Regions from separate parts of the Homo sapiens genome. Here regions 1, 2, 3, 4, 5 and 6 are each linked to region 7. The links are contacts of gene promoters, found by promoter capture Hi-C in blood cells and fetal thymus (Javierre and others, 2016). All regions are on one chromosome and are shown on one strand. Each heading gives the region's core, a stretch centred on a gene start or on the middle of the fragment in contact. The rest is flanking DNA. Distances are from core to core; before and after follow the strand shown. Region 1 holds the start of LRRC45 (leucine rich repeat containing 45). Region 2 has its middle 4.4 kb from the start of TRX-CAT1-8. Region 3 holds the start of FASN (fatty acid synthase). Region 4 overlaps NARF (nuclear prelamin A recognition factor). Region 5 has its middle 5.8 kb from the start of DCXR-DT. Region 6 overlaps HEXD (hexosaminidase D). Region 7 holds the start of CSNK1D (casein kinase 1 delta).

What was found. Contacts are between HindIII fragments. The CHiCAGO score rates a contact against its expected background, and 5 or more counts as called.
Region 1: a contact is called between the fragment with the promoter of LRRC45 here and the fragment with the promoter of CSNK1D in region 7, in 6 of 17 cell types (neutrophils, total CD4 T cells, non-activated CD4 T cells and 3 more). The highest score is 8.9, in neutrophils.
Region 2: a contact is called between a fragment that was not itself captured here and the fragment with the promoter of CSNK1D in region 7, in 1 of 17 cell types (activated CD4 T cells). The highest score is 5.3, in activated CD4 T cells.
Region 3: the fragment with the promoter of FASN here is called in contact with the fragment with the promoter of CSNK1D in region 7 in 7 of 17 cell types (neutrophils, non-activated CD4 T cells, activated CD4 T cells and 4 more); the score reaches 10.9 in neutrophils.
Region 4: a fragment that was not itself captured here is called in contact with the fragment with the promoter of CSNK1D in region 7 in 1 of 17 cell types (activated CD4 T cells); the score reaches 5.7 in activated CD4 T cells.
Region 5: a fragment that was not itself captured here is called in contact with the fragment with the promoter of CSNK1D in region 7 in 2 of 17 cell types (naive CD4 T cells and naive CD8 T cells); the score reaches 7.5 in naive CD4 T cells.
Region 6: a fragment that was not itself captured here is called in contact with the fragment with the promoter of CSNK1D in region 7 in 1 of 17 cell types (activated CD4 T cells); the score reaches 5.8 in activated CD4 T cells.

What each region holds. Positions count from the first base shown.
Region 1 is chr17:82,021,617-82,025,169 of GRCh38, reverse strand. LRRC45 (leucine rich repeat containing 45) reads right to left here and starts at 1,865. Exons shown (of 17, transcript NM_144999.4): 1 at 1,307-1,865; 2 at 831-892; 3 at 407-477; 4 at 1-170. The coding sequence starts at 1,526. It overlaps CENPX (centromere protein X), which reads left to right and starts at 2,292. Exons shown (of 5, transcript NM_001271006.2): 1 at 2,292-2,344. The coding sequence starts at 2,309. RefSeq lists enhancers at 892-1,815, 3,365-3,553 and a silencer at 1,552-2,601. The HindIII fragment of the contact is 18,366 bases long and covers 1-3,553 here.
Region 2 is chr17:82,497,649-82,500,753 of GRCh38, reverse strand. No RefSeq gene overlaps it. Among named protein-coding and RNA genes, the nearest start is that of TRX-CAT1-8, 4.4 kb to the right of the region's middle. The HindIII fragment of the contact is 2,729 bases long and covers 171-2,899 here.
Region 3 is chr17:82,096,297-82,099,584 of GRCh38, reverse strand. It overlaps FASN (fatty acid synthase), which reads left to right and starts at 1,349. Exons shown (of 43, transcript NM_004104.5): 1 at 1,349-1,464; 2 at 3,133-3,266. The coding sequence starts at 3,140. RefSeq lists silencers at 177-1,656, 1,727-1,916, 1,937-2,146, 2,207-2,256 and an enhancer at 2,125-3,040. The HindIII fragment of the contact is 59,862 bases long and covers 1-3,288 here.
Region 4 is chr17:82,478,400-82,481,726 of GRCh38, reverse strand. NARF (nuclear prelamin A recognition factor) reads right to left here. Exons shown (of 11, transcript NM_012336.4): 6 at 2,809-2,927; 7 at 516-645. Among named protein-coding and RNA genes, the nearest start is that of TRX-CAT1-8, 15 kb to the left of the region's middle. The HindIII fragment of the contact is 4,536 bases long and covers 1-3,327 here.
Region 5 is chr17:82,042,016-82,045,435 of GRCh38, reverse strand. No RefSeq gene overlaps it. Among named protein-coding and RNA genes, the nearest start is that of DCXR-DT, 5.8 kb to the right of the region's middle. The HindIII fragment of the contact is 7,461 bases long and covers 1-3,420 here.
Region 6 is chr17:82,431,350-82,434,607 of GRCh38, reverse strand. It overlaps HEXD (hexosaminidase D), which reads right to left. Exons shown (of 13, transcript NM_001330542.2): 5 at 786-950. Among named protein-coding and RNA genes, the nearest start is that of HEXD-IT1, 7.7 kb to the right of the region's middle. The HindIII fragment of the contact is 3,427 bases long and covers 84-3,258 here.
Region 7 is chr17:82,272,125-82,275,376 of GRCh38, reverse strand. CSNK1D (casein kinase 1 delta) reads left to right here and starts at 1,677. Exons shown (of 9, transcript NM_001893.6): 1 at 1,677-2,071. The coding sequence starts at 1,996. It overlaps LOC124904089 (a long non-coding RNA gene), which reads right to left and starts at 1,599. Exons shown (of 2, transcript XR_007065953.1): 1 at 304-1,599. RefSeq lists silencers at 1,538-1,747, 1,988-2,177, 2,228-2,277. The HindIII fragment of the contact is 9,296 bases long and covers 325-3,252 here.

The DNA of each region.
Region 1 (3,553 bases), core at 616-3,115, 250 kb after region 7:
GGAGGGTGGTGTTGCCCTTCAGGGCTAGGGCCAGCTCCTCCGCGCCCTTGTGACTGATCTGGTTGTTGCGGAGGTCCAGCCGCTGCAGGGCGCCGTTGGCCGCCAGGCCCCCGCAGAAGGTGGCGAAGGCATCGTCCCACGTGCCCAGGCTGTTCCACTCCAGCGTGAGGCTGCAGGAGGGGCAGAAGCCAGTGTTCACCTAGGGGACTGCCTAGCCCGTGGGGTCCAGGGCTTGGGGACGGGTGTGGGCTTGGGGTCTGATGGGCCGGAGCCTCTGCCTACCCCTGCCAACGTATGTGAAACATGGGCACCTGGCAATGGGGAACTCTTGGGCTGCAGAAGCATGTGCTCGGGGCCAATCCTCAACCACACAGAGACAGGGCCTGGGGTCGGGACCACCACCCACCTCTGAATGGACTTGTTCTGTTGGAGGAGTTTTCCCAGAGCCTCGGCCCCTGCAGCCCGAAGGTTGTTGCCCTAGGAGAGAAACAGGCCGGTAGTCACTCGCGTGCCCTGACTGGCTCTGAATTCCCGCCCATGCCCCAAGGGCCTTGGTCAGCCAGGGGACAAGCCTGGGGTGCACCCTGCAGCCTTCCTCAGCTCCTGGGCTCCCTGTCTTCAGGGGGCTTCCAAGGGCCGGCTTGTTTGCCAATGTGAACTCTTGCTCTGGAGATGGTCACACACAGGAGGCCATCAGAGAGCGGCCTGGGGACTCACAGACAGCTTCCAGCCACCTGCCCAGACCCCAGGCCCCCGAGACCTGGCATCTTCCACCTCTCCTCTTGCCCTTGGGTGGCACACTCGGACACTCAAGAGTGCAGGTATCTCACCTTTAAGTCCAGAAAGCGCAGCACGGTGTTGGCACACAGGCCTCGGAGCAGCAGTGTGGCCCCTGTGTAAGGGGGGCCGGCGGTCACTCTCTGCCCCTGCTGACCCCAAGGCCCTCCCCGTGGGCCCCTTTTCAGGGCAGCTCCCTAGACCCAGGAAGGGACAACTGTCCCGATGGTCTGGGTTGGCGCTGGCCAAGAGTCTCGCTGCGAAGTCATGTTTGAAACACCTGCAGCCCCTGCCAGGCACCAAGCCGGCTCTGCACGCGGGGAACCAGGTAAGACCGCGAATGTTAAGGCCTCTCCCCCGTCATACAGAGGAACTGCCCTCTACTCCCAGGTGCAGGAAGGGGCGCCCCTGCTCGCTTTAACTACGGCACAGAAATTGGAGAGCCTGGAGAGGAAGCGACCTCGGGCTGCCGAGGCAATGGTGTGGGCAGCTAAGGAGCAGAGGGATCCACCCCGCCGCGCCTGCCCACCTTCCTCGCTGAGCATGCAGTCACTCAGGACCAGCTCCGTGCACAGCGTCTCCCTCGGCAGCAGCTTGCCCAGGGCCCTGCAGGTCTCCACCGTCAGGCTTTGCGTGGCCAGGTCCAGCCGGCCCCTGGGAAGCTGGTGCAGCTGCTGCAGGACAGCCTCCTGGGGCTCGGCCCCACTCTCCCTGCACAGGCGGCTGTAGGAGCGCCGGAACTCCTCCATGACCCGCGGGGCCGGCAGGGCCTCCTCCGCATGCTCCCGCAGCTGCTGAAAGGGAGCCGCGCGGTGCGGAGCAGTCCCAGCGCCGGGTACAGGAGACGGGGCCTCCGCCGACCCGGGCGGAGAGCAATCCGAGTGGGCTCCGCGGGCGGGAGGTCCTGGGAGCGCGGGGCTGGGCGGTAGTCAAGGTCCGCTTTGGGCTGGGGCCCCGCAGTGCTTGGGGACCACCCGTGCAGGAAGCAGGCAGGTGCGTCGCGCGCCCCCACCCAGCCCTGCCCCGCCTGCAGCCCCGACCCCCGCCCTCGCGACAGCCGCGTCGGGGCCTCAGTATCCAGGAAGAACAAGGCGCGCCGGGAGAGGCCGCGGGAACTACAACTCCTAGCAGGCTCTGCGCAGGCAGCGCTTGGTGCGGGCCAATGAGAACAAAGGAACTGGCGCGCCTTTCGGGCCGCAAGCTGAGAGGGGGCAGCGCGCTCCAGGTTCATTGGCTAGGGGCATGAGGGTGGGGCCCCGGGAGGGCATGCTCCGGGCTCATTGGCTGAGGGTCGTGAGGGTGGTGCCCCGGGAGGGCGCGTTCCAAGTTCATTGGCTGCGGGACGTGAGGGAGGGGCTGCTGGAGGGCGCGCTCCGGGCTCATTGGCTGAGACGTGGGGGCGGGGCTCCGAGAGCAGGCGCTTCGGACTCATTGGCTAGGGGCGCGGGGCGGGGCTCCGGGGGCGCGCTCCGGTCTCATTGGCTGGAGGCGCGGGGCGGGGTTCCGGTGGGCGCGCGTTGAGGCTGCGGTCATGGAGGGAGCAGGAGCTGGATCCGGCTTCCGGAAGGTGAGGGCCGGAGGGCAGGGGCTAGGCAGGCGCGGACGCTCCGTCCCGACCTCACGCGTGACACTGTGAGGGCCAGACGCCAGCCCCCGCGCCGCCCCCTGTGCCTTTGAGGTTGGGCCCGTTCTCAGACTCCATCTCCGGCCGGGCCGCGCGCCCCGCGCCCTCGTGGGCTGGTGTCTCGCAGCTGGTAGGAGGGGGCGTGGAGCAGCCGGGGCTGCGGGAAGGTGGAGAGGGTCTGCAGAAACAGGCAGGGGTGGGCGCCGTCACGGCGGAGTCCAAGCCGGCGAAGAGAGAGGAGGAGCTGGGCCGCCGCCCTGCGCCCTGAGCCTGGGGTCTTTTGTTAAGGGGAGATGAGGCCCCAGGACGGGGACAGTGAGATCGTCCAGCCCGAGGAGCCGGCAGGACCTACCCCAGCCGCCAGGCACAGTGGTTTCCCTTTTGTTTGCTCCCCGGTGGGCGCCAGCACTGGGCTAGGAACGCGTGGTTTCTTCGGTGCTCCACGTTACACACACTTGACAGGGATTAACCCCACCTGCCAGTGGAGAAACTGAGGCACGGGGGCGTTAAGTGACTCAGCAGGGCTAGGGTCAGACCTAGGCCGTCTGAGCCAGGATCCGCCCAGGCTGGAGGGCGTGCCCTGCTCTTCCCTGTTCCTGGAAGTGGAGCTCTCTGGGGGTGCCATGTGCAGAGGACCCCATCGGTGCAGGCAGAGTGGTTTCTGAACCTTTCTACTGCTCTACCTGAAGGTTGGGGCACCGAGCTTCCTCGATGTCAGCAGGGCCTCGTGGGCCTCTGTGGCCTGGGAAGGGAGGGTCTCAGGCCCTTGTGAACCCATCCTGGAGGGAGGACTTCAGCCCTGTAGAAGCAGGGAGAATTCTGTTTCTCCTGAATCAGGCCCTTCTTTATCACCCAAGGCAGCAGGCGTGGGGGGCGGGGGGTGTCGGTGTGGGGAACTCTGGTGGTGGAGTTGAAGATTCTTGCCGGAATTCAGAAAGAGAAAGTCACTGAGGCTTGGGCCACCTCACTGGGTGGTTGTGAGAACACCAGGTTAAAGTAGCCAAAAGGCCACTGCCGGAGACGGGGCACTGGGTACACACCCCAGGAGGTCATGTGTTCTATCAAGCCCACCTGACAACTAGAGGCCCAGGGGCTCTGGCCAGAGCTGGAGTTGTGGTCATTGCAGAGAATGAGCGTGAGAATGACGGGGAG
Region 2 (3,105 bases), core at 286-2,785, 230 kb before region 7:
TGGGGAAGCACTGGAGGAGGCATGGGGGTTGTGCTGGGCTCTGCAGTCCCTTCGACCCAGCTATGCTATGGCCAGCTGCCACGTGCTCACCTGGCCAGAAATTGACCCACGGGGCTCCTGACCACTAGCCCCAGGCAAGAGGAGCACACAAGGCTTGGGGAGATCAAGCTTTGAAATACTTCCCAACACACAGTCTGGAACATTCTCCGAACATCTGACTCCCATAGTGTGAGCAGAGAACCTACTCTTGAATGCTGGTCAGGATGGGAAATCCCTCCTGGAGGGCAGATTCTATGGAGCTGGTCCCTGCCCCACAGCAGAAATTTTGCTGCAGTGAACCATTTCTTGGAATGCCTGTGCTTGCAGGGCACACGCCTGTGGCAGCACCAACTGTGATCCCTGGAGTGTGAAGTCACATCAAGGCTTTGCACATCTGAAACATATGCAATTGTCCTGAGAAATTCTGGAAGTTCCAGAAGAAATAACACACAAATTGCTAATAACACAGCAAAAGTAGCTGAAGAGATGTGTGTTCTCAGGACAGAACCCCTTCACACACTCGCAAGTCAGTATGTGTGGTGTATTGTTATTTTGTTTATTTATTGATGGAGTCTCTGTCTGTCGCCCAGGCTGGAGTGCAGTGACATGATCTCTGCTCACTGCAACCTCCACTTCCTAGGTTCAAGCGATTCTCCTGCTTCAGCCTCCCGAGTAGCTGGGACGACAGGCGCATGCCACCATGCCCGGCTAAATTTTTGTATTTTTTTTTTTTTTTTTTTGAGACGGAGCCTCGCTCTGTCGCCCAGGCTGGAGTGCAGTGGCGTGATCTGGGCTCACTGCAAGCTCCGCCTCCCGGGTTCACGCCATTCTCCTGCCTCAGCCTCCCAAGTAGCTGGAACTACAGGCATCCACCACCACACCCAGCTAATTTTTTGTATTTTTAGTAGAGACGGGGTTTCACCACGTTAGCCAGGATGGTCTTGATCTCCTGACCTCACGATCCGCCTGCCTTGGCCTCCCAAAGTGCTGGGATTACAGGCGTGAGCCACCGCGCCCGGTGAATTTTTTGTATTTTTAGTAGAGATGGGGTTTCATTGTGTTAGCCAGGATGGTCTCGATCTCCTGACCTCGTGATCCGCCCACCTCAGCCTCCCAAAGTACTGGGATTACAGGCGTGAGCCACCGCATCCGGCCAGTGTATTGTTATTTTATTACACAATTGTGGAGCTCAAGACAAAGTACTGTATCACAACAGAAATTAAAAACACTAATGGTCAAAACCATGAAGGAAAAGAATCGTCGTAACTAAAAAAATATGGAGAATGAAAATGACGATACAGACATTATGAGAGAACACACCAAACAGAAAGCAAAGATGCAGAAGGGAGCTGAAGGTCACAGACAGGAAAACCACAGCTGGTCCAGTCAGCAGGACACACACTGGGCTGGCCACAGACACACCCACAAATTTGCTGGTTTCAGTACCACGCTGTCTCATTACACCTGTTACGACGAGCAGTAATTCCACTCAACACTTTTTAGTGGAAGATTTATTGTTCAAGATTCCGATCCTGCAACTTGCACTTAATCAACTAAAACACATCAGACAAAACAGATGCTTCTCAAAACATTTTGAAACCATTTTTTTTTTTGGAGACAGAGTCTCGCTCTGTCACCCAGGCTGGAGTCCAATGGCACCATCTCGGCTCACTGAAGCTCCGCCTCCCGGGTTCAAGCGATTCTCCTGCCTCAGCCTCTCGAGTAGCTGGGATTACAGGCGCCACCACGCCGCGCTAATTTTTTGTATTTTAGTACAGGCGGGGTTTCACCATGTTGTCCAGGCTGGTCTTGAACTCCTGAACTCAGGCAATCTGTCCACGTAGGCCTCTCAAAGTGCTAGGATTACAGGGGTGAAACACCACTCCCGGCCAAAATAGGTTTTTTTAAACAGAAAAACTGCCACCTGATGTTGGTTAGTCTTTCCTAAGACTAAACATTGCCTATGTTGTTTGGTTGTATAGGTTTTTAAACCAGACCGACATTACCTACATCAGGGAGTCTTTTACATAAATGAATACCGGTTTTTTTTTTTTTTTTTTTTTTTGAGACAGAGTCTCACTGTCACTCAGGCTGGAGGGCAGTGGCACGATCTCGGCTCACTGTAACCTCCGCCTCCCAGGTTCAAGTGATTCTCCTGCCTCAGCCTCCCGATAGCTGGGATTACAGGCACACACCACCACGCCCGGCTAATTTTTGTATTTTTAGTAGAGACGGGGTTTCACCATGTTGGCCAGGATGGTCTCGATCTCTTGATCTTGTGATCCACCCGCCTCGGCCTCCCAAAGTGCTGGGATTACAGGCATGGGCTACCGCGCCCGGCCCCATCAGTGAGTATCTTGAGAACCCTCAACAATCACAAAGGCTCCGCATAGCACACGAAGGATTTGTGGACTTGAGTCACACAGAAATCACGAACAGAATGTACGTGGTGTCATTAGTGAAGAAGAGTGAATAGTAAACATGGAAGTCAGCCTGCGTTTCTCCGGAAATCACAACGCTGGAAAGCTGGTATTAAGCCGCTCTGGGCCGGGCGGGGTTGCTCACACCTGCACTCCCAGCGCGTAGGAGGCCGAGGCGGGAGGATCCACGGAGCTCAGGAGTTCGAGACCAGCGTGAGCAACAGTGTGAGACCCACCCCCCCACCCACCCCCAGTCCTCTACCAAAGACAAAGGAAAAACGCTACCGGGAAGACGCGCGGAATTCCGGGCCAGTCACTGCGCGGGGCACTTGAAATGCCTGAAATCCTTCCCGTCACATAGGAGAGGTTGGGCCAGATCTGACAGCAACCCTCAAAGTGTCTAGAGCGTTGCCAAAGAGAATACACAGTGGACAGAAGCTTTTCTAAATGCCCCATAATAACAAGCACGTTTACATCCACCGGGGGAAAGGAAAGAAGGCCCTTTCTATTCTCTCCTAAAAGCAGCACCTTCAATCATCGCCGCGTCAAGCGGCAGAGCCTGCAGCCCGCACTTTAGGGCACCGCGTTCGTTTCAGGCGGGACTGGGGAGTTCTCCGAGCGCGGGGGGTGTGGGCGCCGCCCGTTC
Region 3 (3,288 bases), core at 100-2,599, 180 kb after region 7:
CGCCTGACCCTCAGGCCTGCTCTCAGGAGAGGAAGGAAGCGGGACACCTGCAGAGGGGCCGGGGGCCCCAGTCTCCGGTTCCCCTTCAGCGGCCCGGGCTTGCTGAGCCCTCAAAGTAGGACACGCAGCCAGAGACACCTGTGGCCTCACAAGGCCCGCTTGCCCCCCATGGGGTGCCTGGCCCCGCAAGCGCGAAGCGGTCAGAAAAGGGAGGCCGCGCTTCAGGGCTCAGGCCGCCCAAGGGGCCACGATTCGAGGAATCACTCGGGAGGGAGGGAGCGCGCGAGGGCCGGGCTGAGCCCCCGCCCGTGGGTGCGCGCCTGGAAAACTCGCAGCCTCCGCCCTGGGAAGTGGGGCAGCGGCTCCCTTTGTCCGCACCACACCAGGTGGGTGTCCCGGCCGACTCCGCTCGCCACGTGGCCGCGCCCCTCCCCTCCGCCGAGCTCCAGCGGCCTGGAGTGCGCTCGCCCGTTCGGCCCTGCGCCTCGTCCGGGTCCCCGGGAAGCTGCTAAGGAGGGGCCGTCGGGTGGGTGGACGTCCGTCTCGGGTCTGGGTTCCCCGCCGCACCCGCGAGGAAAACCGGGGATGCGCTGCGATGACCGGCAGTAACCCCGGCCGGGGCGCCCGCGGCCGGGGTCAACGCCCGCACTTGCGCCGCGGCCCGCGAGGCATCCGGGACCGCCCCGCCGCCCGCCCATCACCCTATCGCCTAGCAACGCCCACCCGCGCGCCGCCATTGGGCCGGTGCGAACACCCCTGGCGCCCGATTGGTTGCTGCTGCCGCCGCGCCGCGCAACGCCGCGCCCTCAGCCAGCTCCGCGCGGGCAGCGACGGCGGCGTGGAGTCGGCGGCCGAAGTGCGGGCACGCGGGTCCGTCCGTCCTTCCGCGCGCCTGTGGGTCCGAGCGCCCCGCCGCAGCCGGCTGGACCCCCGGTGTGGCCACGGGGTAGTCCCCAGTGTGGCCCAAGCATTCCCATCCCGCACACGTGGCCCCGGCGGACACGGGGGTCGGGGATGGCTCGGGAGGCGCGCCGCGGGCTCGGTCGCAGCCGCGTGCGCGTCGGGGCCCGCGGGGCGGGAGGCGGAAGTCGGGGGGCGGTGGTTTCCCGCCCGCCCCGCCCCCGGCGCTCCTCAGTCCCAGCCCCACCCCCCCAGGCGCGTTCCCGCGCAGGGTCCCGGCTCGGGCGGCGGCGCGCACGAGCATCACCCCACCGGCGGCGGCGCGCCGGGTCCCGGGGCGCAGCCCCGACGCTCATTGGCCTGGGCGGCGCAGCCAAGCTGTCAGCCCATGTGGCGTGGCCGCCCGGGGATGGCCGCGGTTTAAATAGCGTCGGCGCCGGCCTAGAGGGAGCCAGAGAGACGGCAGCGGCCCCGGCCTCCCTCTCCGCCGCGCTTCAGCCTCCCGCTCCGCCGCGCTCCAGCCTCGCTCTCCGCCGCCCGCACCGCCGCCCGCGCCCTCACCAGGTACGAGCAGCCGGCGCTGGGGCCGGGGCGCGGGTCGTGGTCGGGGCTGGGCCCGGGGTTCCCGGGGTGGCCCGGCTCCTCATCCTCCGCTCTCGGGGCGCGCGTGGCCCGGCCCCGTATCCAGGGGTCGCCTGGGCGGCCTGTCCGGGTCTCGGTGTTCGTGCCCCTTCGGAGGCGCCCGGGGCCCCGCGGAGTAGGTGGGCGGATGGCGGGGGAAGGACGCCGGGGAAAGCCACCAACAGCCGCCTTCGCTTCCCGTGGGGGAGGCCGCGGACCCTGAAGGGCCTGGAGGAGCCCCCGGCTCGGCCTCCCCGCGCCCACAAAGGCGCCGCCGCATCCTCCTCCCGGAGCCGCCCCGGAGCCGAGGCCCAGCCCGAAGGGGACGCCGCGAGGGAGGAACGGGGGGGCGCAGGGGCCGCGCCGGGACCGGCCTCCCCATCACGTGGCGCAGCCCGGCCGAAGCGCAGGGGTCCCGAGCAGCCCCCGCCCGGGGCGAAGGGAGGCCGGGCGCGCCGCGGTGTTCCCACCCCCTGCCTGGCCGTCGACCCCGCGTGAATAGCAAGCGGCGAGGACCCAGCGTGCGGGCCTGGAGCTGGCCCGGGGCAGCCAAGCCTCTGTGAATCGCAGCGGGTGGGAAGGCGGCCGCCTCCCTGCCGGGACGGCCCAAGGGAGGCCGCACTGCCGAGGGGCGGCGCGCGTATCAGGCCCTGGGGCCTCGTGCAAGTGGCCAGACCAGCGCTGGCCTCCGCCCCCTCCCCCCAGGGCCGCACCAGCCCTCATGCTGGAGGAGGAGCCGGCGGCCTGGGCACCCGTTCCGGGTCTTAGGGACCTGGGCTCCAGGGAGGGCCTCCTGTGGTGTGTGGGTTGGTATGGGGAGGCAAGCGTCTGTGGGTTCACCCGCGCAGGTGAAGGGTGCCAGGCAACACCTGCGTGTCCTGGCCAGGAGTGGTTCTCCAGGTTGGACCCTGCTGGAGGGGTTGGACTGGCTGGGTCGGTCCACAGTGGGGCAGGGGCCACCTTTCCCCCAGAGCATAGGCTATCCCCATTTCGTCCCTCCCCAGCCCTGGTGGCTCTTGGGCTGGCCTGGACAGCGGGCCCCCACCCCAACACGGGTGAGCATGGGTGCTGAGTACCCCCCTCTAGGGCTCCCAGCCACCTCCATGCCCCGGCTTTGGGACCCTGCCTCTCCATTTCTTTGATGGCCCTTAGCAGGCTGGCCACCTGAGGCCTTGTCCCCATCTCAGGTGACCCTGCCTGCTCCTCACTGTGAGCCCCCTGGTGCCCTAGGGATGGCCTGGGACAAGCTCCAGGAGCCTTGGAAGGCTGAGACTCAGGCGAGTGGAAGCCGACACAGGCGCAGAAACCAGTAACTGCTGGGGAGGCCAGGGCTGCAGGGCTCCAGTGGGGTACCCCAGCCAATACCCTGAACTGAATGGGTCAGGGCCCAGAGGCGGGCCTGTTCCCAGAGCACGCAGCCCCTCCCAGCGAGAGCGGGGTCAGGGCCCAGGAACTGGCCACATGAGGAAGGGAGCCGCAGGAGCCAGGGCCCGCACGGACCCTCAGGGTGGTGCTTGGCCCCATGGGTGTCCACCTGTTCTGGGTGCCGAGGCTGTTGACGGGGGTGTCGTGGCCGGGATGTGTGGGGCACTCACACCGCCCGCCCTGCAGAGCAGCCATGGAGGAGGTGGTGATTGCCGGCATGTCCGGGAAGCTGCCAGAGTCGGAGAACTTGCAGGAGTTCTGGGACAACCTCATCGGCGGTGTGGACATGGTCACGGACGATGACCGTCGCTGGAAGGCGGGTATGTGGCTGCGGGGCTCCCC
Region 4 (3,327 bases), core at 653-3,152, 210 kb before region 7:
CAAAGTTTTACTCTTGTTGCCCAGGCTGGAGGGTAATGGCGCGATCTCGGCTTACTGCAACCTCTGCCTCCCGGGTTCAAGCGATTCTCCTGCCTCAGCCTCCCGAGCAGCTGGGATTACAGGCATGTGCCACCATGCCCGGCTAGTTTTTTGTAGTTTTAGTAGAGACGGGGTTTCTCCATGTTGGTCAGGCTGGTCTCGAACTCCTGACCTCAGGTGATCCACCTGCCTTGGCCTCCCAGTGCTTAGATTACAGGCGTGAGCCACTGTGCCCAGCTGAGACCTGATTTATCTTGAGGAAGATGCACAGAGGAGACAGGAGGCTAGATCGAACATGACCCTTCTCTTCACCTGCAGTTAAGCCCCTAGGACCCTCAGCTGTCAGTAACTTCAGACAAGCGACCACATTGGCAGGCACTGAGATGGCTCTGGGACACAGATCTGCCTGGCTCTGGTGTGTACTGGCCAGTAGGAGATTACCCCAGCGCCCAGGTGCACCCCCGCCCACCTCTCACCTGATGTTAACACGCAGTCAGCGCCCCGGGAGCCATGCAAAGCAGGGGGAAGGCTTTCCTGAAGAGCCTCCAGCTTCTTGTCATAACAAGGGGCCACAATGACGTGGAAAATCTTCTCTGGAGACAGGTTCTGTGGGAGAGGGGCACCCATATTTAGGGCTGGTGAAGAGGTGACGGCAGCTTACGCTTGGTGCCCAGAACAAGAGGGATGGGAGACCGAATGCCCCCTGCTGCTGCCCTCCAGACACTGCATGCTGCACTCTTTTTTTTTTTTTTTTTTTGAAATGGAGTCTTGCTCTGTCACCAGGTTGGAGTGCAGTGGCGTGATCTCAGCTCACTGCAAACTCTGCCTCCCGGGTTCAAGCGATTCTCCTGCCTCAGCCTCCCGAGTAGCTGGGACTACAGGCGCATGCCGCCACGCCTGGCTAATTTTTTGTACTTTAGTAGAGATGGGGTTTCACCGTGTTGCCCAGGCTGGTCTCAAACTCCTGAGCTCAGGCAATCTGCCCGCCTCGGCCTCCAAAGTACTAGAATTACAGGCGTGAGCCATCGAGCCTGGCTGCATGCAGCACTTTCTTGGGGCTGGGACTGTTGTGGGTCTGAGGCCGGGCCCCACAGATGAAAGTGCTGTAGCCACATCTGGCTCCCATCCCCTCTTCAACTCTACCGAGCACCAGCACTCCATCCATGTCTGTCTGCTGCCTCCCTCAGGACTGGGTGTGGTCCTCCCAAACATCTGCAAAGCCCCCCAGCCAGTGGAGCCTCCTGGAAGAACCGGGAAGGCTGAGCCCATTTCCTCCTGAACCTGTGCACATGGGGACAAAACAAGTAAGAGGAAGTCCAGCCGGCGTGGAGCTGTTGCTGGTCCAGCATGGAGCCATTGCAGGAGGCCTGAGTGAGTGTGTGTGTGTGTGTGTGTGTGCGCGCGCTGGCTACTTCACCCACAGACTTTCCTGAATCTTCCCAAGCGATGCCCACCCAAGCTACCCCTCTCCTGGGTCCACACAGAGCAGGTGCCTGTGGCTGGGCCTGAACTGGTGGCAAAGCCAGGAGCCAGCAGTTGCCAAGTGACCCTGTGGTGAGGTCTGGGTGGAAAGGACCCACTCAGGGCAGGGGCGGAGCAAAAGAGGAAACCCGCCCCTGGTTGCAGCTGTGCCAGGTGGTCAGGTGAGAGGCTGCTGGAGGCCGGGTCTCTGCGGCTGCCCCTCATGGCACCTACAGGAGGACACATAGCTCTGGGCTCCATCCAGGGGAGAGGGCAGCACGTGGAAGACCTAGAAACACATGGCTCTCTTCAGGTGGGGGCAGGGCAAGGGACAGAAAGTCCCATAGCTCATTTTTCGGTCCTGCCTAAACTGAACGTGTATACTCTGACATCATGTTTATAATTTGCCAAATTATGACTTTATGGGTAGAAAGAAACTAGATAGAAGGAAAACACTGCCTATTGCTAAAATAACAAGGCTGCCAAATGTGCGTGCCTTTTTAGGCTGACTTCAAATGTCTGAAAGATCCTGATGTTACCCTCTACTCCAGTTACCACAGTGCCTGGACATGGCTGCTTCCCCGGAGGGAGGTGTAAAGTCTGATTGAGAAGAGCAGTGTGGGGCATGCCAGCGGCTGGAGAATAAACCATGGGATTAGGGTCCCTTTGAGGGTGGCCTTGGAGACATCAGGGAGTTCTGGGAGGACCTGGGGGCCGCAGAGGGTTGTGGGAAGGGAGAACACGACGGGCCGAGGCAGGGGGCACGCAGGAGCCTCAGGCCGGGACTCACTCCATCAAGAGGAGGACAGCATCATGGCCACTGTGGAATCTCACAGAAGTGGCTAAGGAAGTCATGTGATGCCCGTGGTCTGAGGGAAAGGCCAGGGCAGAGGCCAGGTTTGGCTCCCTAAATGACAGCTGCCCTCAGCCTCCAGGCACAGGCCACTTTAGGCCTCCTTGGGTGAGGCATCCCAACAGCAGGCAGGCAGCATCTCTGGGCAAGGTCCGGGGCCTCATTCTCAGCAGGGTGGGCAGCATTTCTACTCTACCCCGAATGGGCCCAGGAAAACCACCAGATGCCACAGAAAAGGTTAAGAAGAAAGAAAAAGGTTGTAAGAGGAAGGGAGGAATAGAGACGGGCGTTGGTGAGAAACAGCACTGCTGATGTTTCCTGAAGCCACAGCTTCCTTTTTGCTCACCTGGGGGGCCGTGACCACGCTGGACAGATGGGGAACCTCCCCTTCCTGGGCCCCTGTGCCATGGTCCTCCCTCACCTGCCCTTCCTGCCCTCCAGAGAGGTCAGCTTACCTGCTGTCTGGCGAAATAATCCTTCACCAAAGAGCCCATGACCTGCTGGGGGGACTTGGCGGTGCAGAGGTGGGCAGTGATGGGGCGACCCAGCACCCGCTCGGCGTATCGGACCCAGCCTGGGGAGAGAAGGGATCCACGGTCAGCTCCTTACTGCTTCCTCTGGTCTTCCTGTAACGCACCAGGGAATGCTGAGCTCGAGTCCCTGCCGCCCCAGGGTGAAGCCAGAACACCTTTTCCCCAGGCCTTACCAGGAGCTCGTGCTGGACCCAAAACCCGTCCTCGGTGGCCCGGCTGTGGGTCATGGGAACCTGCAGGCCTGGAGGCTACTGGGAAATGGGAGCATCCCTGCAAGGCCGACAGACAAGTAAGAGTCGGAGTAACAGGTCCCCCAAAAAGGTGAAGGGGAACAAGCACTGAAAGGCAGCAGGAGCAGCGGCCCAGGCTGCACCGTGCAAAATCGCCTGGCCAGCTACAGCGTCCTTACAGCCAGGACACGCAGCTACCGCTCAGGGGAGA
Region 5 (3,420 bases), core at 1-2,500, 230 kb after region 7:
GCTACTCAGGAGGCTGAGGCAGGAGAATGGCTTGAACCCGGCAGGTGGAGCTTGCAGTGAGCCGAGATCGCGCCACTGCGCTCCAGGCTGGGCGACAGAGCGAGACTCCGTCTCAAGAAAATTAAATAAAATAAATAATAAAAATTTAAAAAATAATAATACTAAAATGAGTATAAATGCTTGAGGGGGTGGACACCCCATAGTCCGTCATGTGTGTCTGTCACACTGCATGCCTGTATCGAAACATCTCAGGTACCCCATAAATATATATGCCTCCCATGTACCCACAAAAATTTTAAAAAATAATAAAATAATAATTAAAAGAAAAAAGAGGCTAGGCATGGTGGTTCATCCTTATAATCCCAGCACTTTGCAAGGCGGAGATAGGAGGATCACCTGAACCCAACCTGGGCAATTTAGCAAGACCTTATCTTTACAAAAAAAAAATTGATAATTAGGCACGGTGGTGTGCCCGTGTAATCCTAGCTACTCGGGAGGCTGAGGCAGGAGGATGGCTTGAGCCCAGGAAGTTGAGGCTACAGCAAGCTGTGATGGTGCCACTGCACTCCAGCCTTGTCAGTAATCAAAAAACTCCTGACAAGGAAAAGTCCTGGGCCTGATGGTTTCACTGGTACATTCTACCAAACATTTAAAGAAGAACTGGCCGGGTTTGGCCGGGCGTGGTGGCTCACTCCTGTAATCCCAGCACTTTGGGAGGCCGTGGCAGGCGGATCACAAGGTCAGGAGATCGAGACCATCCTGGCTAACACGGTGTAACCCCATCTCTACTAAAAATACAAAAAATTAGCTGGGCGAGGTGGCGGGCGCCTGTAGTCCCAGCTACTCAGGAGGCTGAGGCAGGAGAATGGCGTGAACCTGGGAGGCAGAGCTTGCAGTGAGCCAAGATCACGCCACTGCACTCCAGCCTGGGCAACAGAGCGAGACTCCGTCAAAAAAAAAAAAAAAAAAGAACTGGCCGGGTGCAGTGGCTCATGCCTGTAATCCCAGCACTTTGGGAGGCCAAGGCGGGCGTATCATCTTAGGTCAAGAGTTTGAGACCAGCCTGGCTAGGCATGGTGAAACCCTGTCTCTACTAAAAATACAAAAATTAGCAGGGCATCTGTAATCCCAGCTACTCAGGAGGCTGAGGCACGAGAGTCGCTTGAACCCGGGAGGTGGAGGTTGCAGCGAAGCAAGATTGCACTTTCACAGCAGGTGAAGGAAACGACGGGTGACAACAGAATGGCCAGGAAGGCCGTGGCTTGGAGTTCATTTTCCTACCCAGCACGTCCTCGCTATGCAGACGGCAAAACATGCGACCTCCCAAAGCCTGGGGTCTGAGCAATGAAGGACCTGCCTAGCCCATGCTGGGGGATCCACAGGCTTGGGCGCCCAGGCACAGGGCACATGGAGGTGGCGGGGAGGGCTCCTGGCTCTACTCCTGGGGCACCAAAGGCTCTGGGGGCAGGCTGAGTGTCTACACATGGCTTTCCATGGCCCTCAGAGGAGACCCTGTAGGAAACTTTCTCTGTAGCATCCGTGAGCTCAAATGCTCCTCCACGGCGGGGGGTGCTTATGGCAGGAAGGGCCTAGCACTGAGCCCACAGACACCCGCAGAGTCGATCATACCTCCCGGCCTTGGGCTCCCGGGGAAGCCTGAGCCCCATATCCTCCTCTCTGTAGGGACTACAGAGGCTCAGAAGGCCGGACGCGAACAGGAGGGCCCCACCCCCATCCGGTCGTCTTAGGAACAGTGGCCCCTGCTGTTGCCTCGCCACATGGGACCATCCTGAGAGCTGGAAGGACCGGCCAGCTGTCCCGTGGAAGATGGGAGCTGGGGGTTCTTAGGTCTTTTTGACCCCCTCATTGTCCAGAAGAATCAATATGGCCTTAGGGAGCCCTTGGCTTTCCTCCTGGAGCGGGAGCCTTTCCCCAGCCCCCACCTATGGTTGCTTTCCAGAGCTCAAGGCTCAGGCCCAGCTCCCAGCACCAGGTGCAAACCTGGCTCAGCCAGGAAGGCCAGCAGCCACCCAAGACCTGTAACCACGTTGGCCGCCTTCACCTGCTCTCCCCCAAGCTCAGCCTCATGGCCCAGCTTCAGGGAGCACCAGGGTCTGTCCCCTCCTGAGGGTGGCTCTCCTGCAGGAGGACTTGAGCCCAGGGACAGGGTCCTGGCCAACCCTGACTCCTAGCAGGGATCCTCACAGAGAGCAACATCGAAGCCGAAGCTGCTGATTTCCAGGGTCCTCTTTGCCACCATGGACCAGAGCGTGTGTGTCCGTGTGCGACTGTGTGTCTACACACATATTCACTTGTGCATGCCTGTGGGGGGTGTGGATACATATGTGTATACACGCATGTCTGTGGGCCTGTCAGCTGCAGTGCATGCACCCCCATGCTCAGGCCTGCATGTTCACATATGCTCCATGTGTGCACTTGTGTGGCTGCCTGGTCCATGCATTGCCATGTGTGCTCACGTGTGCATGCCCGTGTGTGCGTGTGTGTGTGTGTGTCCTGTGTGGCTGCTGTGCCATGGCATGCATGTGTCCCCGGGTGCACACACATGTCCCCGTGTGCATGCTCATGTGTGTCTACACCTGTGTGTGCCTGTGTCCCCGTGTGCATGCTGATGTGTGTGTCTACATCTGTGTGTGCCTGTGTCCCCATGTGCATGCTGATGTGTCTACACCCGTGTGTGTCTGTGTGTGTCCCCATGTGCATGCTCATGTGTGCCTACACCCGTGTATGCCTGTGTCCCCGTGTGAATGCTCATGTGTGTCTATGCCCATGTGTGCCTGTGTGTGTCCCTGTGTGTATGCCCAAGTGCTTGTGCTCACATTGGCATGTGCCTCTGCGTGTGTGCACACAGACATGAGGCCAGGAACAGGTGGCCTCTCCCTCCCAGGGTCCCCCGTGCTCTCTCTCAGTCATGCCTTCCTCCCACCTCTCCAGGAAGCCCCCTGTGCTCCCTCTGGCCCTGCCTGTGTGGTTCACATGCTACTGGCCTCCATTTAATGGTTTCACTGCAGCTGTGTCTCTGAGGGCTCAGTCTTTTTTTTTTTTTTTTTTTTTTGAGATGGCGTCTCGCTCTATCACCCAGGCTGGAGGGCAGTGGCGGGATCTCGGCTCGCTCCAAGCTCCGCCTCCCAGGTTCACGCCATTCTCCTGCCTCAGCCTCCCAAGTAGCTGGGACTACAGGCACCCACCAACAGGCCCAGCTAATTTTTTGTATTTTTAGTAGAGACGGGGTTTCACTGTGTTAGTCAGGATGGTCTCGATCTCCTGACCTCGTGATCCGCCCGCCTCGGCCTCCCAAAGTGCTGGGATTACAGGCATGAGCCACCGCGCCCAGCCTTATTTTAAAAAAATTTTTTTAAAACTTTTTATTTTTTATTTTTTTTTGAGACGGAGTTTCACTCT
Region 6 (3,258 bases), core at 548-3,047, 160 kb before region 7:
CTTTGGTCTCCCAAAGTGCTGGGATTACAGGCGTGAGCCACCACACCCAGCCTATATTTTAAAATGGTTAGAATGGTAAAGCTTAAGTGTATTTTACATACTCAGGTTTCCTTCAAAAAAAGGAAACTTCTGGGGCTAAAATGTTCAGCTCGGGTTCCCTGTGAGCCACAGCCCTGCAGAACCTCCCAGCCCCGTGGGCACCAACCCCGCCCCTTTCAGTTCCACATCCTGCCCAGGCCCTGACTGAGTTGGAGTCCAGTGAGTGGCAGGAGGGGCAAGGGTGGGGGCTCACTGGGTTGGAGGGGGCACATCTCTGGCACCCCCTGGGGACCACCTTTTCCATTGGGTGCTTCAGGGTCCAAATGCAGAACTTCCTCTCAGCAACAAAAGGGTGTCCCTCGAGTTACACCCTGACTTATGCTCACTGCTGGTCCTGGGGCGTGAACCTGCCCATCACCCACAGGCTTCCGCCAGCCCAGCCGCCCGGGGTGGTCTCGTCTGACACGAGGGTGCCTCCCTCGGGCTCTGCAGGCTGTCCCGTGCCAGGCCGCCCATCCACCCGGAGAAGATGTTGGACGCGTCTGACACGAGGGTGCCTCCCTCGGGCTCCGCAGGCTGTCCCGTGCCAGGCCGCCCATCCACTCGGAGAAGATGTTGGATGGGGTGCCCTGAGGGGAACAACAAGCCTGTCTCTAGGCCTCAGTGCCTGGAAGATTTTCCTATTTAAAAGGACAAGCCATGATAGGGGAGAGTGTCCTGCACAGAGCTGGGGTGACAGTACCCACCTCATCACACCCGATGTGCAGCCGCTGGGCGCCTGGGTGTAGCTCCAGGACCTGGTCAATCATGGCGCCCACCAGCGCCAGGGACTCTGCCTCGTGGGGGTTCAGGGTGCAGGGGAAGGAGCCCACCTCCCGCAGGTGGGCGAAGGCCGTGTGCTTCAGCACAAACTGCGGAGAGACAGAGAAGTTCGCGTTGGGGGCGGAGGAGCTGGACTGATCTCCTTCTGCCCACCTGGGGCTTCTGTTTCAAATCTACAGATAATACAAAAAAATTAGGCCAGGCAGAGAGTCTCAGTCCTGTAATCCCAGCACCTTGTGGGGGCTGAGGTGGGTAGAATGTTTGAACTCAGGAATTTGAGACCAGCCTGGACAACTGGTGAAACCCCATGGAATCTCGCTTTGTTGCCCAGGCTGGAGTGCAGTGGCACAGTCTCGGCTCACTGCAACCTCTGCCTCCCAGGTTCAAGTGATCCTCCCGCCTCAGCCTTCCCAGTAGCTGGGGATTACAGGCATGTGCCACCACGCCTGGCTAATTTTTGTATTTTTAGTAGAGATGGCGTTTCACTATGTTGGCCAGGCTGGTCTTGAACTCCTGACCACAAGTGATTCGCCTTCCTTGGCCTCCCAAAGTGCTGGGATTACAGGCGTGAACCACCACGCCCAGACTAAAAATATATATATAAAAAAAAAAAAAAAATATATATATATATATATATATATATATATATATATATTTTTTTTTTTTTTTCTTTTTTTTTTTGAGATGGAGTCTTGCTCTGCCGCCCAGTCTGGAGTGCAGTGGCATGATCTCGGCTCACTACAAGCTCTGCCTCCCAGGTTCACACCATTCTCCTGCCTCAGCCTCCCGAGTAGCTGGGACTACAGGCGCCCGCCACCACGCCCGGCTAATTTTTGTATTTTGTTTTAGTAGAGACGGGGTTTCACCGTGTTAGCCAGGATGGTCTCGATCTCCTGACCTTGTGATCTGCCCGCCTTGGCCTCCCAAAGTGCTGGGATTACAGGCGTGAGCCACTGCACCCAGCCATAAATTTTTTAAAAACCAAATCGGTTTAAGAAAAAAAAGTGGCCAGGTGTGGTGGCACCTGCCTGTGGTCCAGCTACTTGGGAGGCTGAAGCGGGAAGATCACTGGAGCCTAGGAAGTTGAGGCTGTAGTGAGCCATGATCACACCACTGCACTCCAGCCTGGGCGACAGAGTGAGACCCTGTCTCTGAAAAGAAAAAAACAGAAAAATGTTTATCTATGAAAGACCACTCTAACTTTGCCTAAGAACAGAGACTCTGTGGCCTCGGCCTAGGGCTACTCACTGCCCCCTTCCCCCTCACTGTGGAAACCACAGCTTTGCTGCCAAAGGGGCAGACTTAACTTGAGGCTGGGTTAAAAACCCACCCCTTGTGGGGGCGCTGTCAGTAGAAGCAGCAACTGGAGAAGAGGCCCTGTCTTCCGCTTGCCAGAGGGTGCAGTCCCTGCTGGGGAGAGCCAAGACTGGCTGCAGATTTAATGGGTGACCCTGGAAACAGAAAGCCAGATGGTGCTGCACACTCTCCTCAGGCCTGGCTGACGGGGGCCACACACACGTGCAGGGACCTGTGAGGGCCAGGTGGGAACTGCGCGAACCTAGGGATGCACCCCCCACCGCCCACACACAGCCCCGTGGCAAGGGGAGGAGGTCTGTGGGCTCAAGGTGTGGGAGCACAACCTCTGCCCAAACCCTTGGCTGACCACCAACTATGAAGACAGAGGGATGACCCTAGGAAGCCAGGCTAAAATGTAAAAATAAGAACCAAAAAATCTCAGCACAGACATCAGTGAGTGCACACAGCCAGGGGCAGGTCCTGCAGGTTAAATGCAGGCCATTTGCTAGAAAACAACAAAAAGACCACCACCAGCCACTGGGGAAAAGAGTAAACATTCAGCTTTGCTATAATGTATTAACTGAAATGTTCAGTTCTCAACCAAAAATTTTGAGATGTGCAAATGAACTGGAAAGTAGGATCCAGTTCACAGACTCTGACTCTCAGGGCCCACATGCAGAATTTATCAAATATTTCAAGAAAACTACTATGAATATATTGTAAGAATGAAAGGAGGCCGGGCATGGTGGCTCATGCCTGTAGTCCCAGCACTTTGGGAGGCCGAAGCGGGCAGATCACTTCAGGTCAGGAGTTCGACGAGATCAGTTTGGCCAACATGGCAAAACCCCGTCTCTACTAAGAAGACAAAAATTAGCTGGGTGTGGTGGCGGGCGCTGTAATCCCAGCTACTCGGGAGGCTGAAGCTACTTGGAATGTGGAGTTTGTAGTGAGCTGAGATCACGCCGCTGCACTCCAGCCTGGGTGACAGAGTGAAACTCTGTCTCAAAAAAAAAAAAAAAATTAGCACTTAGGGAGGCAGAGGCGGGAAGATCACCTGAGCCCAGAAGTTTGAGACCAGCCCAGCAACATAGTGAGACCCCA
Region 7 (3,252 bases), core at 428-2,927:
TGGCCATGTCTGCACCCTCCCTGTCTTCTCGGAAGGGGTGCTGTCATTCCCTGGGCTACACACCTGCTTTGTCCTCCTCTCTCTGACCCCAGGGCTCCAGGGTACCACTGTCCTCTTCCTTTGTCAGTTTGTTGTGGCTGGGGCTGGTGGTGGGGGAGCCACAGCAATCAGCCTGCCTCACCTTGCCCAGCCCGCATGTTCCCAGGGCTCCTGCCATCCCCACTACACCACAGCCCAGTCCGTGTGCACGGGTTATAGAGTCAAGACACAAACACACAAAAGCCAGGCAGACGGGCACAGTACCTGCCGCAGCTGCATGAAGCTTGGGGCACTATGGGTGAGAAGAGCTAGAAATGTTGGGGCCATCAGAGCCCAGGAGGACCAGCCGAGGGAGGAGCAGCTGACAGGTGGGCAGGTGCCCCTAGTCAGGGACAGCAGGACTCCCCAGGAAGAAGGATCACAGCCACCCGTGGGAGAGCTGGACTCTGTTCATCAACAGAAAAGCCGTGAGCGATTCCGCCAACAAGGTCAGTTTTACTAGTCTGGCAGCCCCCCACCCCCGGCTTCTGTAACTCAGAAACTGGGCAGTTCCGACTGCCCATCCCTCATTAGTGACTGATGGTGGTCTGGCCGGCGGCATCTCCTGTCTCCAGGCCCTGCTATGTAATTTCGGGAATGGACGCCCGTCTCCCCGACCTGACCTCCAGCTGTTTGGAGCTGAGGGGTGGAGAGGAAAGACTGGGGGGTGGAGAAAGGCGAGCACCACTGTGGGGCCTGTGGGGGCTGCTTTCCTCTTCTGCAGTGACCTGGACGGGCTGAGGCTGCTGTCTCACTCACACGGCGGTGCCCACACCACAGCCCTGGTATGCTAATGCGTCAAAACACACCTTCACCTGTTTCACATTCTTGAGTTTCAGCGAGGATGCGACAGGTCTCGAGACACATGGACGTGGGACCATGGGGACGGGTTCTTCAAGGTCCCCATGCACCTGCAGCCTGGGGGGGCTTGTCTGAAGGGCTTTCTTCCCAGTGATGGGAATCAAAGGCCCCGATCTTTGAAGCTGGCCATCAGCCTGAACGTCCACTCCTTGTTTCCTTTGCAAGGAGGAACATTCAGATCCAACACAGATAAGAATGTTGACTCCGTCTCCAGGCCGCAGGGACTGGAGGGAGGCAGGTGGTCTGGCCTCATTTTGTGAAAGGTGGTGGCTTTGTCCTCAATCTTCAGGCTGGACATCAGGACCTCCCAGGGCGCGGGCCTGCTCTGTCTCTGGCCTTAGGTGTCAGGAGGTAAGGCCGCAGACGCTGACGTACTGGGATGCCCCAAGCCCGGGAACTGGCAGCCCAGTGAGGGGGTCTCACCTGTGTCCCCTGAGCCTGGCCTGTCACTCTGTCCACGCCTCAGCTACCTGTCCCCTCCTGCAAAGGGCACCGCCTGTCGCGAGGAACTCACCTGGCTTCCTCGACATCTCGGGGGACACACGAAAAGCCCCCGCGAGAGCAGCAGGAGCCTGCACGTGGAAGGGGCTGGCGGCCCGAGGTCCCGGGGTAACAGGAGGGCAGAGGGGCTGGGCACGGCGCAGGGTCGGGAGGAGGCCTGGAGCGCTCGCCCCGCCCGGCCCCGCCCCTGGAGCGCCGCGGCCCCGCCCCGCCGGGTTGCTAGGGGAAGTGACGTCACAGCGCGATGGCGGCGGCTCCTTTAGGCAGCTGAAAGGGGATTTAGGCCCGGAAGATCCGAGTCCATCCGCGGCGGGGAGAGGGCAAGCGGGACCGGTAGGGGCCGGAGCAGCGGCGGCGGCGCTCGGACTGTCCCATCCGCCCCGTATTGAGGCGCTGGGAGCGGCGGGGCGACAGGAAAGCGATGGTGAAAGCGGGGCCGTGAGGGGGGCGGAGCCGGGAGCCGGACCCGCAGTAGCGGCAGCAGCGGCGCCGCCTCCCAGAGTTCAGACCCAGGAAGCGGCCGGGAGGGCAGGAGCGAATCGGGCCGCCGCCGCCATGGAGCTGAGAGTCGGGAACAGGTACCGGCTGGGCCGGAAGATCGGCAGCGGCTCCTTCGGAGACATCTATCTCGGTGAGGCCCCGCCGCCCCCGCCCGCCGCCCGAAGACCCGGGCCCTGCGGCTGCCAAGACCAAGCGCGATCGCGGAAGGAAGTGGTGGCCCCCGCGGGGTCTCCGCGCAAGTCCCGGCACCGCCGGATCGTGGCCAGAACCCAACGGCCACTAGGCTAGCGCGGCCAGGGGTGGGGAGGGCAGTGGGGAGCGGACGTGGGGGAGGGGCAGGACCAGGTCGGGGGAGCAGGGTCTGGAGAGGGGAGGGTTGGGGAAGGAGGGGATAGGGGAGCTGACCCGGGGTGGGGCATGGTCTCTGGGGAGCCGACCTGGGTAGGGGCAGGGTCGTGGGGAGCGGACTCGGGAAGGGCTGGGTGGGGCGTGGGGAGGCGGGCCTGGGGGAGGGGCAGGGCGGGGGTGGGGGCAGCGGGCCGTGGGAGGGGAGGGGGTAGGGCTGGGGCCGCGAAGCGGGCGTCGGCTTCCTCTACGCCTAAGGTCACCGCAGTAAACAAAGGCCACGCTCTTTCTTCCGCAGCCCGGTCCGGGGCTGTCTGGCTGCCCCCTCAGAGGCTGCCCCGGTGTCTTGCATTCGTGGGGGAAAATGTCAGAAAGACCCAAATGCCGTGTGGAGCGGGGGAGTGGCCCGGCTAGGAGTGGGGCTTGCCCTCCCGCTGGGGGTTCTCTCTGAACGGTTCCCCTTGGCCTTGGAGCGGTGACTGAGTGCAAATGAGCAAGGGTTAAGTTTAGGTGAATGTAGAGAAAGTCACACAGGATTAAGATGCTGGCAAGATGAGAGGCAGATGAGGTAGTTGTACTCATGAGGTGTCCTTTAGACTGTAACAGTCTCAAGGTAGATTTCAAAAACAATGGGATTAGAAGGTTTTGGGTTGTGTCATATTTACAATGGAAAAATATGCACGTGAACACAAGTGTGATGAAAGGTTGGCTTAAATCTTCAAGTTTGTAATTTTTTTTTTTTTCCTGAGACGGAGTTTCGCTCTTGTTGCCCAGGTTGGAGTGCAATGGCGTGATCTCGGCTCACCGCAACCTCTGCCTCCCAGGTTCAAGCGATTCTCCTGCCTCAGCCTCCCGAAAAGCTGGGATCACAGGCGTGCGCCACCACGCCTGGCTAATTTCGTATTTTTAGTAGAGACGGGGTTTCTTCATGTTGGTCAAGGCTGGTCTCGAACTCCGGACCTCAAG